Linked DNA regions of Homo sapiens: regions 1 and 2 are each linked to region 3. The links are contacts of gene promoters, found by promoter capture Hi-C in blood cells and fetal thymus (Javierre and others, 2016). All regions are on one chromosome and are shown on one strand. The core of a region is centred on a gene start or on the middle of the fragment in contact, and the rest is flanking DNA. Distances in the headings are between cores, read along the strand shown.

Region 1 (3,900 bases), core at 469-2,968, 140 kb after region 3:
ACCTTCTCCTTTGTCACAATGTTTTTCAATCCGGTGAAGCAAACTGTCCAATTAGAGCCAGGGTCTCCGGCTTCCATCTTTGCCGACGTTTAATTAACATGCTCCTCTTGGCAGCTGCTGACAAGTTCCAGAAACAGGTTGTAAAGGGTTTTTGTCTTTACCCAGCATGGAAAATGAGGGGTGTTACATCGCGGGTACATGAATAGGTTGCATTTCAGATCCCTCCTTCCCCTCCCCCCTGCACTGGTAAGAGGCATGCAGCGGTGTGTGTGTGTGTGTGTGTGTGTGTGTGTGTGTGTGTGTGTGTGTGTGTGTGTGAATTGCAAGGGGGCGGGGAGGGCGGAGTTGGAAGCTGAGAGACCTCCTCCCTTTTCCCTCACCCCTTCTTCCCAGGAGCCTTTGCTCCACAAAAGATCCGGATTCCAAGTCTTATTCTCCAACTGGCACACTTCTGCCTCACATCTCTTCTAGCCAGTAGCAGACTTCACCGTGTTAATTCCTACCCATGGGTCTGTGCCCATGCTGTTTCTTTGCCATCCTTCTGGTAAACTCCTATTCAGCCTCCAGAACCCTGCTCAGGTGGCCCTGCTTTGAGAAGCCAACTGGGTACAGACTTCCTGTCCAGCCACACCTGTCAGAGTTCAGCATGGATTCTGAGGGTCAGGTCTGTCTCCCAGCTAGACTGTGAGCCCCTGAGGGCAGGAAGGTGTATTACTCTGCCCAGGGTGGTGGTGAGCCTGGGAGATCTACCCTCCTGAAACCTTACCCCACTGTCCAGGGAAAAGAAGGCTGGCTTGGCAGAGAGAAAGAAGGGAAGGGATGGGGAGGAGGAGATGGGCCCAAAGGAGCCCTCCCTCCCTTCTCGCAGTCCTGCTGGAGTGCCCAGAGCAGGACCACATGGAGGGCACAACAGAGATGCCAGCTTTCTCAAGGGCTGAGTTTCTGGAGTAGCTGATGGAGGGGCCTTGAAGCAAGACCCCAGCCCAGAGCTGAGCCCTGCTGGGTGCCCCAGGCTGAAGGCAGGCTCTAGTACCCAAGTTCTGCCTGTTCAGCCTGCAATGACTTTCCTCGCAGTGTGGGTGGTACCCTTGGATGAAGGTAAGGGCTGGGGCAGAAGCAGGTCTCTTGGGTCCTTTTCTCCCTCAAACTGGCCCCATTGGAGCATTCACACCATTTTACAAAGGACAACAAGAATGTTTATTCCTGGAGGCTGCCACGCACACAACACAGAGAGGTCTGGGGGACCCAGGGAGCATAGGAGATGCTGGCCGAGGTGCAGGCACGGGGTAGAAGAGCCTCATAGGTGGTGACTGGCAGCTAAGTTGTCTCCTGGGAGAGCTCAGGTTCACCCACCAGGTCCCAGCCCCACTTTGAGCCTGTTTTTCTCCAATGTGGCCAAGACCCCAGGCAGAGGCAGAACTTCTGCAGCCAGAACCCGGCTTGGATGCCCACTTTGTAGCTTCTCCTTCTCCATTCTCAGTCAGACCCCCTGGGATGAAGGGGAGGGCAGGGGTGGAGGCACCTTGAGGCCAAGCCAGCAGGTGGGGGTGCTGCTTGCTCACTCTTGCATCCCTAGCTAGGTCAGCACCAGCTCCTCTGGGCCCCAGGACAGTCTGTGGAGCCTGCAGGGAGACAGCCAAGAGCAGCGGGTCACTGCCGGGTCCTGCTGTAGCCTCTCAGGCACCATTTTCTTTTCTGGATGGGGTGGACATTAAAGGCAACTGGGCATAGCCTCACCTTCCTCTTTCCTGGCACCCTAACATCCTCTCTTGCCACATCACTCAGGCCCCAGACCCAGCTATTGCCAAGCTCTGGCCTCCAAGGAAGTTAAATAACAATAATAAAAACAGTAACAATGACCAGCAAGGACCCCAGTTTCTCCACTTGCTAGTTGTGTGATCTTGAAGAACCTGAACTTCTCCGAGCCTTAGTTTGCTCATCTATTAAAATGAGGGCAGTAATTCTACTTGCCTTGTAGAGATCTTGGGAAGGTTAGATGTGAAAGCCATGAGCAAGGGCTTGGTGCATTCCACAGAGGAGGCACAGTGTTAGTTGACGGAAAGAAAGAGGGGAGGGTGGGTCTCATCTGAGCTGAGCAACTGAATACAACCAGACGTGTCAGCTTCATTTTTATAGATGAGGAAATCGAGGCCCAGTCTCTGGGGTGAAGAGATTCTCAAAGTCACACACCAGCAGGCACAGTCACAAAGCCAAGTGTGCCCCCAGGTCTCCTTCCATATTCCTTCCAGGCCCTTGTGCCTTCACCTGTTCCTGTGTCTGTCCTGGATGCACGTTGTCTGACTCTAAGAAGCTCCCCTGCCAACCCCATGTGCCCACTGCACCTCAGGCAGGAGGGGTGGAAGCCCTCATTTCTTGATGTTTGCTTTTTGCCTCTTTGCTAGTAACATCTGATTCTGAGAGCTGGGCCCCCACTGGGAGAACCTCCCTGTCATCCCCCAAGCCAAGCCCATGCTCACCTGCTCCTCACCTGCCCTGGGAGCCTAGGGTACCAAGGGTACCGAGGAAGCCATGGGTAGTGGGGACACCATGGGTACTGAGGGTACTGAGGGTCCTGAGGGCTTGAAGGTGGGGTCCTCAGGGATGTAGACAGTGCTGTTCCCTTCAGGCATCTACAGAGAGAGGATGCAACTCTGAGGGCCCTGTCCCAGTCCAGGCAAGGGTGTCCCTGGTGACTAGAACCTGGAGCTGCAAATGGTGTGTGGCGAGCGCCACCTTGTGATCGCCGTGCGGATCACATGCCACGGAGAGCAGGGTGGTCCTTCAACACAGGAGTCCTGCCCCTACCCTATATTAGGCACTGTCCTGGGTGCTGAGGCATGGCAAGGAGGAGACAGTGTCCTTGCCCCATGAGAGCAATGGTGAGGCATTGCAGTGAAATACCCAGTGACAGTAAGAGTTGCAAATGCACACAACAGGCTTATAACCCAGCCTGGGGGATGCTGAGAAGTTGTGCTGAACCCACTTTTAAAAGATGAATTGGAGTAAGGGGCAGAGGCGGTAAAAGGTAGTATGGCAAGCTCTGTAAACTGCAGACAGGTCCGAAAATGGGGTGGGGAAGGTGCAGGGAAGGCCAGAAGTGGGTAGAGAGGTGGAGGGCAGGCAGGGCAGGTCAGCCCTGCCCTTGCCCCATCTGTGGTCCTGGGGAACACTGGTCCAATCCCCATCCTCTGAGAAGCCACCTCACTCCCAAGGTAAACCACTCAGGGCCTCAGGGACTGCCTGATAGTGTTCCTTCCATTGGCACAGAATTTTGTTATTCCCAACCAGGTACAGCCAGCCCTCCATACCCATGGGTTTTGTATCAGCAGGTTACACCTATCACAGGTTGAAAATATTTAGAAAAAGCAACAACAAAAAATGACAATATAACAATAAAAATAATAAAAACAAAAAACAATACAGCATTTACATTGTGTTAGGTATTACAAGTAATCTACAGATTACTTAAAATATGTGGGAGGATACATGTAGGCTTTTATGCAAATACTATGCCATTTTATATCAGGGACTTGAGCATCCCCGCAAGAGATCCTGTAACCAATCCCCTGAGGTTACTGGGGGACGTCTGTACTGCTCAAGGTATATAGAGCTGAGAGGTGTGAACTTGGAATAAATTATAAAGATCAAAACAGAACCAAGAGGGAACTTCTACATGGGGGAACTGATAACATTTCTGATTTATTTCGTTAGCGTAAAATCTGTTGGTTTCTAATTGTGGTGTCTAAAATAGTTTAAGTTCTGACTTTCTTAAATATAGAATAGAAATAATTATCCTGTGAGAAAAGAAAGTTTATTAGGAATGTAATAACACAGAACAATTCTTATGATAGAGTGGTAAGGAGAAAGAGACGGATACTAAATTGGGTGAATAATACAATT
Region 2 (3,943 bases), core at 1,300-3,799, 240 kb before region 3:
CAGCCGACCTCATTCCTCTGAGCCCAGTCGACAGCTGACCTTACCCAGCCCTCTAAAGCAGTTTGCGGTCACAATTACCCGTCTCTTCACCCCGCCCCCATCGACATCAAACACGACCCACCTTCTAGCCCTCCTCCCCTTTCCCCGCCCACTCCGGGCTGGCCTTATCCAGTAGCGTCTGGGTCCCTGGACTAAAGCCGTCAAATGTAACCAATTGCTGAGGAGCTCTCCCCTAAGAATCCCGCCTCCACTCTGAGGAACAGCTTCGCTGATCAATGGATCCCCTCCTAGACGCAATGAGCGCGCGGGGCAAGTGGAGAAGCGGCTGAACTGCCCAATGAACAAGCGGTTTCCGTGGTTAGGGGCGTGGCAGAAGCGGTCGTCAGGGGCGTGGCGGCAGTTACTTGGGCGGGGCCGGTAGCGGCGGGAGCTGCACTGGCCAGGGGTTCCGGCTGTATATCCATGAGCGCCGCTGGCAGCCGGGGAGCTGCAGGAACCAGACTGGGGGCGAGCTGAGCACCTGTAGTCAATCACACGCAGGTAAAGCCACGGCCGAGCGAGCTCCGCGGAGCGGGGATCGCACCCCGGACCCGTCGAACCGAATCTCCGAGCCCCGAGGTCCCCGGCGTAGCTCGGCCCATCACGCCGCAGCCTGAGGGGATCCTGGGGGGCCTGTCATCTGGCGCCGTGGGGGTCCCAGGGGCTGGCTTGCCCAGTGGTGGGGACAGCCCAGATCGCGGCGGGGGATACGCCTTCCTGAGGCCCTTTGTCCCCTTCTGCCCGAGGAACCGAGGTTGGGGACAACCCCGACCGCGGCCTTTCCCCCATTGGTGCTCACTCCTGGGTCTTCAGGGGCCTGGGGAGGGGTCTGCCGGTTCAGGCTCGGCGAAGAAGGTCCGGGATCCGCACCTGGAAGGAGAGGGCCGAGGGGCCTGATTACAGCCCGAGATACCCGAGAGGCCTCTGTGTTTCGGGGCTCCAGGGGCTCACGCAGGACCAGTGGGTTTAAGTTCTAGAAAGGCAGCTTTTGACCCACTTGGAAGCACATTTACCGAGTTCGGCCCCGCGACCGGCACTGTTCTAGGCCCTTCGTGAGCTTTTCCCACAGCTAGAGCTGTCCAGCAGCGCAGGAGGCTGCCTGCCAGGCCGGGCAGCTAGCGCCTCGACCTTGGCGATGTCCAAGCAGTGGCCTGATGACAGCCACCTGTGTCGGATGCTTAGGACTCCCAAGGGAGGACTGCATGACCCATCTGTAAGGGCCTTCTCTACCCACAAATGCACTCTAAGTGGCCTTTGATGCCTAGCTTGAGAAGAGTACTTCTGGGGGTCCATTAGGTTCCAAGTGGCTGTTGAATTCACCCATAATGAATTTTGAGGTTTCAGCTCTCAAGAGTGGGTGTTAGCAAAGAGACTGGATTATACAAAAAGATAGAGGTTTATTTAGCCACTGTGAAACTCCTTGTATTTGAACTACCATGGACCGCTCTCTTAATCTTCCCAATCTCTCTTTTTTGGTTGCTGGACCTCCAGTTTGTCAGTTTCACCTGCATTCCAGTAACCAAATCCAAAGGCATGTTCCAAGAACAGGCTCCACAGAGGGACCTGGAGAGACTGCAGGTTTGGCAGAGTCAACAAGATCTGTGCCCAGAGCTTTTCGAAGGCCGTTTCCTTACAGCCACATTAAGCAGAGTCCAAAAGAGAAATCCTTCACTACCCTCTGTCATTTGCCGGAATAGAGAGAACATAATAATCTAAAGGTCAGGAGGCAGAGAAAGAATCTTAACACACCTTGCTGTGTGTTTTAGGATGAATTAATCTTTGAACATCTAGTCAGAAAGCAGTCCATATACAGCTGGTAGTCAGCACGGACTGTGACATTTTAGAGCTGAAGGCACCTTAGATAGAGCTCATCTCTATCTAAGTCTAATTAGGTGGACTCTCATTCAGTCTCCTCAATGCACAGGTGAGGAAACTGAGGCCTGGGGTGGTCACAGGGCTGGTTGGTCATCACAGGCCCATGACTAAGGGTTGATCTCTTGACTGTATTTAGATCTAGCCAGTGCATGACTTATTTCACTCCAAGCTTAGTTTGCCCATTCTCAGTGTTTTAAGTTCTAGGGGAGTCCAGAGAGGTTAGGAGGACAGATTTTGGTGCCTGAGTGCCTGGATTTGAATCCCAGCCCTGCCTCTTACTGGCTGTACAACCTTGGGCAAGCTACTTAACTTCTCTGTGCCTCTGTTTCCTCACCTCTAAAACAGAAATAATAATGATACTTATGTTAGAAGATTGTTTTGAGAAGTGCATGGAGTTACTACATCTGAAGCATTTAGAACAGTACCTGGCACAGGGTAAGCACAATAGATTTGCTAGATATGATATTCTGTTGCCTTTTTGTACATTTTTCTTCATATCCACCACCCAATACTCTATCAAGAGCTAATTTTTCCCCCAGTCCCCTTCCCCCCACCCCCAAATTCATTTAACATATTCCAGATTTCATTTTAACACAGACAGCTGCAAGGGGTTTCCAAGTCACGTTGCATTTTATACCTTACTTATTTTTGTGATTCAGGTAATTTAGTTTCTATGTTAGTTCCCCCTTGCAGTTACATTCTTCTTAGGCTCTGAACCCTTTAAAATTATCGTTAAAAGCAGGCAGTGAGGGGTGGGAATCCCTCGAAATGGTAAAGTCCTGGATGATACCCGTGTCCATGGTGTCCTTCCAAATATGTATTCCCTCTCTTCAGCCCTCCTCCCAAGCGATGAGTGTGATGCAGCTTGATTCTAAATGGATGAACATTTTTAGATTAAGATTTTATGAGCCACTGTATTAAGTGCTTTTCGGAAGTTCAGGGATCATGTGTCAACTGCATTTAAGGAAGTTACTTAGTCATTCGAATAGGGGGAGCACCAGCAGCGCCTGCCTGGCCTGGCAGAAGCAAAAGTGTGTGACTGATCCGTGCTGGCAATCTAGCTGGTTCACTGGTTTATCTGTGTTTTTCCTGTTCTTTTCCAAAGCTTGAAATAAACCAGATGGCAAGTACAAGGGAATGGTCTTTTTCCTCTCATTTTAGTCAGGGTCGTTCACTTTTTTCCCTTTTTACTCTCACCTTCATTTCCTTTATCGCCTGCGTGGGTCTGACAAATAGGCACTCTCAGTGTGCCAGCCAATTCCCTTTTGATGAAAAGATGCCTGCCACTTTCATTTTTTGCAGGAATCCAGTCACCTTTGATTTTCTCTTCTGTTTTTACTTGTTTTCTAGATTGAACCAAAGATTATCACTTCATTAAATGGCACCTTCTCATGCTTTATTTTTCTTGAGTTGATTCTGAATTTCGGTTTTTGTTTAAGCTGTTCTAGAGATCAGCCATTTTAGAATAATAGTTTTCATTTCTTTGCTTGTGTATTAATATGGGCCCCTTTCTCTCTTTCTCACTCTCTTTTCTCAGTATTTTGGTGGATGAGCTTCTCATTTGCTGTTACTCGTTGCTTTAAGCATTTACGCCTTTTCCTGGTAATCTCCGGCAGGACCCATAACCTCTGTAGTGGTTCTCACTGCCCTTGTTCAGAGCTCCTGCCCCGAGCAGGAAATAATTTCTTTGGTCTTATGGGAGACAGGGGTAGAGTCTGTCTTATTTTTTGCCTAAAATCTGGCTCTTTTAAAAGCCCCAGGAGAGAGACATTTCCAATATAATTGAATTTTGTGTGGCAGAATTTCTACCATGACCTACAGCTTACAGTATTCCCATTTTTATTGCATTGTGAGTTTTGAGTACTCCATGACCAGTTTCAGAGTATAGATGATGTGGGGCATGAGTTGCTTTAGCCTTTCTGTTTCATCTTGGGCTAAGCTATCCCCAGGAACAGAGCAATGAGAAGTTCAGGGTGCCTCTTAAATGTGTCTGGTGTCAGGATTTTATAGCAGCTTTTCATGGTTCAGC
Region 3 (3,905 bases), core at 1-2,500:
CTTGCGGCTGCTGAGGCTGCTGTTGCTGCTGCTGCTGCTGCTGCTGCTGCTGCTGCCGCCGCCGCTGCCCGTCGCTGGGGTCGGACGCGGGGACGGAGCTGGAGACCCAGCGCCCCGGAGCTGGAACCGGCCCTGGCCCGACGGTGGCGCCGGCCACCTTCCTCCAGAGCAGGCGGCTCATGGTTGGTGCAGGGACCCCCACGCTGGGAGTCAGAACACCTGGCTTTGGGCTCCAGCTTGGCTTCTTTTACTGGCTGGAAGACGTGGAGAGAGACACGTCCTGTCTCTGCTCTCCTGTCAGTGAAATGGGTTTGACCATGCCTGCCTTCCACCCCAAATCCTAAAGGAGACAGATGATATAAAGCGTTATTTTACCATATATGTAATAGGTGTATCCATAATCATCATTCCTTGAGCATTTACTGCGTCCCCAACACTGTGCCAGGCGCTTCAGTTGCATTTTCCGTTAAGCCTCAAAACTTGGGAAACGTCAATACCCCTCCTGGGGGAACCGGGGTCCACGCAACTTCGTCAGTGAACCCACGTGGGGAAGCCGAGGGCAGCGAGTAAGAGAGCAGTATCTGGAGTAGGGCGACGCGGTTTTGAACCCCGCTTCTGGCTCTCTCGAGCTGTGTGACCTTGGGCAAAGCTCCTTAGGCCCTGATATCCTATTCTGTAAAATGGGATTACGGATTCTGCCTGTCACACCGGGCTGCTGTCTGGGGGACACAGGGCGCCTATGTCGTGCGGCCCTGCTCTTGGCAAGCGCTCGGCAAATGGTGGCTGCCATTACCGCGACCGGCGCGGGCCTAGCGTCGAGAGGTGCCAGCGCCCGGATTCGAACCCGCAGGGTGGGCCGCCGTCCCCCGGGACCCACACCCACACCCGGACCACGGCCCACCCGGCCGAGAGCGTCCTGCAGGAGGAGTCGGCGGCCACCCCCGTGCGCCCCGCCGCCCGCCTGCGCCCGGCAGAGGCGCCGCGGTGCGCCCTGGGACTAGCCGCCGCCCTGCTCCGGGCCTCGCTCCCTGACTGGAGAGGGAGGGGCCGCGCCGTCGCTCAGCGACCCGGCCTCCCCGCCGCCGACCCCGCCGGAAACCTCGGTCCTCACGGTGCTTCCCGGTCTGCTGCTCCCCCGACCCCAGGCCCACGGCACGGCGTCCCCCTTCGCGCGGCCTACGCAGCCTCGGGGTAGCGTGTGGCCTCCACCCGGCCGGTCCGCTTCGCTGGCAGCCGCAACTTCCCGTCTGCACCCAGCTAGGTCCCGCGGCTACCCGAGAGGCAAGCGGGAGACTCCCAGCGCGACCAATAGGAGGGCCGCCAATGGAGCGGTCCGCCCGCGGGGGGAGAAGGGGGACTTCTGGGTGGGCTCTCCCTGCGGAACGCGCGAACCAAAGGCCAACCTCCCCTTCTCAAGGAGCAGGTGGATTGGTCCCGAGCTAGCTGGTGGGCGGAGGTGACGTTTTTATAAGTTGCTCAAGAGACGGTAACAACCGACGGGCCGCGTGGCCTAATGGATAAGGCGTCTGACTTCGGATCAGAAGATTGCAGGTTCGAGTCCTGCCGCGGTCGAAGGGAGGTTATGATTAACTTTTAGTTTATTCCTCCCTCAGGAACGAAGTATTGGGACAATGTGAACGTAGTCGCCGCCGATTCCCACCGCACTTCAAAGATGTGGGAACGCCAAGATCCGCGGAAGTAACCACGCCCAGCAAGTCCCTGCGAGATTGCCCGCCTACGTGTCTCAGCGGAGGCACATTTCTAAAATGTACCAGGTCTCTCGCACCCCGACGCAGGTGGAGGAAAGTGGAGAGGGAGGGGCATCCTGTACAGAAATCTCAATTTATACTCAATTGATGGTTGGCAAGAGTTGGGGCTCGCAGCCAAAGCGAGGCTCCCTCCCTCGCCCATCCGGTGCTGCCTCCTCGTCCAGAGCAATTCTGAGGGGTAAAAATGTTGCCTTCCGTTGAACCTGAATTTGCCCGCAGATGCTAGCCTCCGGCCCACAGCGCGGCTGGAGCTTGTCCCCTTCCCCAGCTGTTTCCAGTCTCCGCATCCGTCTTGTGTTGCTCCAGGTGCTTCAACAGCTCTCAGCGCTCGGTGGTTGGTGAACTGTGGTAAAGTGCACGCAGAATAAGGTCTACGTGATTAAGCACCGCCTGGGGGTTGGGGTCTGGAGGCCCAGCTGCACAGATGAAAGGGAGGCTCAGAGACGTTTGGGACCAACCGAGATCACACAGCTGATTAGGAATAAAATTCAGGTCAAGCTGAAAGTCGGCCGCCACCGTCCAGCGTGGATCCCAGGACACCGTGAACGGACTACAGAAGTTGACTTTCGCGTTTTTAAGGAGTGGGGTGCAGGGAAACAATCCTCCGCCGGCCCTGCGGGCTGATGCCGACCCTCACCTGCTCCCGCCACGTGGAGAGGTAGAGAGAAGCCCCGGGCCAAGCAGCATTGAGCCCTGGTCCCTTCTATTTAAATATGAAATATTTTGCATACACTTTTCTAGATGTACTTAATATACACAATGTTTTAATGTTTGTGATTTTTTTGTTTTGCCAAAAAAATACAATCAATCAGAAATTCATCTGTTTTTTTTTTTTTTTTCACATAACTGTTGACTTTTACAAAATACTGGAAGGAGAGGCTCTCAGCTTAAATCAGGGAGTCCCTGAATGGGGAAAACATTTTCATCTTGTTTCTTCTAACCGCCTACTGATACTTGGCATTTCCTCCAATTATGAGCATAGGCTGTCAGCCACAGTGGTATTAACAGTGCCTGTGACTTTGTCCCCTCCAGCAACCACAGATATTTTCATAACGCATTACAAGTGCTGCACATTTTTCAAAATTTGTTTGCACTTATCTGTACTTCAAAATAACAGGGGTTACTAGACTGCCACTAGATCCTGTTAGTTAATAAGTTTACCTATTTGTCCTAATATTTGAATACCTTTGGTGTCCTTTGTAATCCTTCATGTTTTATGTGCTTAAAAACACTATTCTTCCATATAACCAAAAACTGCCTGTACCCCTATTGAAATAAAAATTAATAAAACATATTTCACAGAAAAAAATTAAAAACAGAAACACTACTCTAGGCCAGGTTCAGTGGCTCACGCCTGTAATCCCAGCACTTTGGGAGGCTGAGGTGGATGGATTGCCTGAGCTCAGGAGTTGAAGACCAGTCTGGCCAACATGGCGAAACCCCATCTCTACCAAAAAAATACAAAACTTAGCCCGGCATGGTGGTGCACGCCTGTAATCCCAGCTACTTGGGAGGTTGAGGGAGGAGAACCTCTTGAACCCGGGGGGCAGAGTCTGCAGTGAGCCGAGATTGCACCATGGCACTCCAGTCTGGGCAGCAGAGTGAGACTCCATCTCCCCACTCCCCACCAAAACAACAACAACAACAAAAAAAAGAAAAAAAAGAAAGAAAGAAACACACTATTCTAAGAAGGTGTCTATGACACAAAAAAGCTAAGAACCCCTGGCCCAACTGTCCACAGGGGCTGCTGTTGCTGGGCCTGATTGGCCTCTCCTGAGATTCAGTCTCAGGAGATGTCCATCAAGATGCCTGCTCCTCCCATAGACTACTTGAGACTAGCCTAGTGCCCTGGTCCTGGAATTAGAATCTTCAACAAGGACAAAAACGGTTGATACTGATTCCTGCTGAGGGAGGGTACCTGGAGGCCTGCACCCTTCCTGCCAGGCTACACCCTGTTTCCAGGCCTTTCTGAACCCAGCTCCTCCACTTCCCCTGCCTCCTTTTCTAGGAACTCCCCCACGTCCTTCTAGAAAAGTCTGTCCTTGATAGTGGTTCCTGAGAAACAGTTACATTTTCCCACAATTCCCTGGACCTCTCCCCCCACAGAGCAAGAGGCAAAGTTCATTAGGACCCCTG

The links. Contacts are between HindIII fragments. The CHiCAGO score rates a contact against its expected background, and 5 or more counts as called.
Region 1: a contact is called between a fragment that was not itself captured here and the fragment with the promoter of POLG in region 3, in 1 of 17 cell types (M2 macrophages). The highest score is 5.2, in M2 macrophages.
Region 2: a fragment that was not itself captured here is called in contact with the fragment with the promoter of POLG in region 3 in 1 of 17 cell types (naive CD8 T cells); the score reaches 5.1 in naive CD8 T cells.

Annotation. Positions count from the first base shown.
Region 1 is chr15:89,470,234-89,474,133 of GRCh38, forward strand. It overlaps RHCG (Rh family C glycoprotein), which reads right to left. Exons shown (of 11, transcript NM_016321.3): 10 at 2,478-2,630; 11 at 1,174-1,622. The coding sequence ends at 2,502. Among named protein-coding and RNA genes, the nearest start is that of RHCG, 24 kb to the right of the region's middle. The HindIII fragment of the contact is 7,550 bases long and covers 1-3,900 here.
Region 2 is chr15:89,088,024-89,091,966 of GRCh38, forward strand. ABHD2 (abhydrolase domain containing 2, acylglycerol lipase) reads left to right here and starts at 433. Exons shown (of 11, transcript NM_152924.5): 1 at 433-540. It overlaps LOC124903573, which reads right to left. Exons shown (of 7, transcript XM_047433432.1): 4 at 3,112-3,260; 5 at 812-909; 6 at 45-663. RefSeq lists enhancers at 452-631, 573-1,092. The HindIII fragment of the contact is 936 bases long and covers 2,082-3,017 here.
Region 3 is chr15:89,333,574-89,337,478 of GRCh38, forward strand. It overlaps POLG (DNA polymerase gamma, catalytic subunit), which reads right to left and starts at 1,251. Exons shown (of 23, transcript NM_002693.3): 1 at 1,100-1,251; 2 at 1-340. The coding sequence starts at 181. It overlaps POLGARF (POLG alternative reading frame), which reads right to left and starts at 236. Exons shown (of 2, transcript NM_001430120.1): 1 at 1-236. The coding sequence starts at 236. It overlaps POLG-DT (POLG divergent transcript), which reads left to right and starts at 914. Exons shown (of 2, transcript NR_186332.1): 1 at 914-1,281; 2 at 1,614-2,588. TRR-TCG1-1 (tRNA-Arg (anticodon TCG) 1-1) reads left to right here and starts at 1,500; the gene lies at 1,500-1,572. RefSeq lists enhancers at 519-1,020, 1,890-1,989, 2,000-2,069, 2,410-2,459 and silencers at 710-1,309, 3,267-3,436. The HindIII fragment of the contact is 8,583 bases long and covers 1-3,905 here.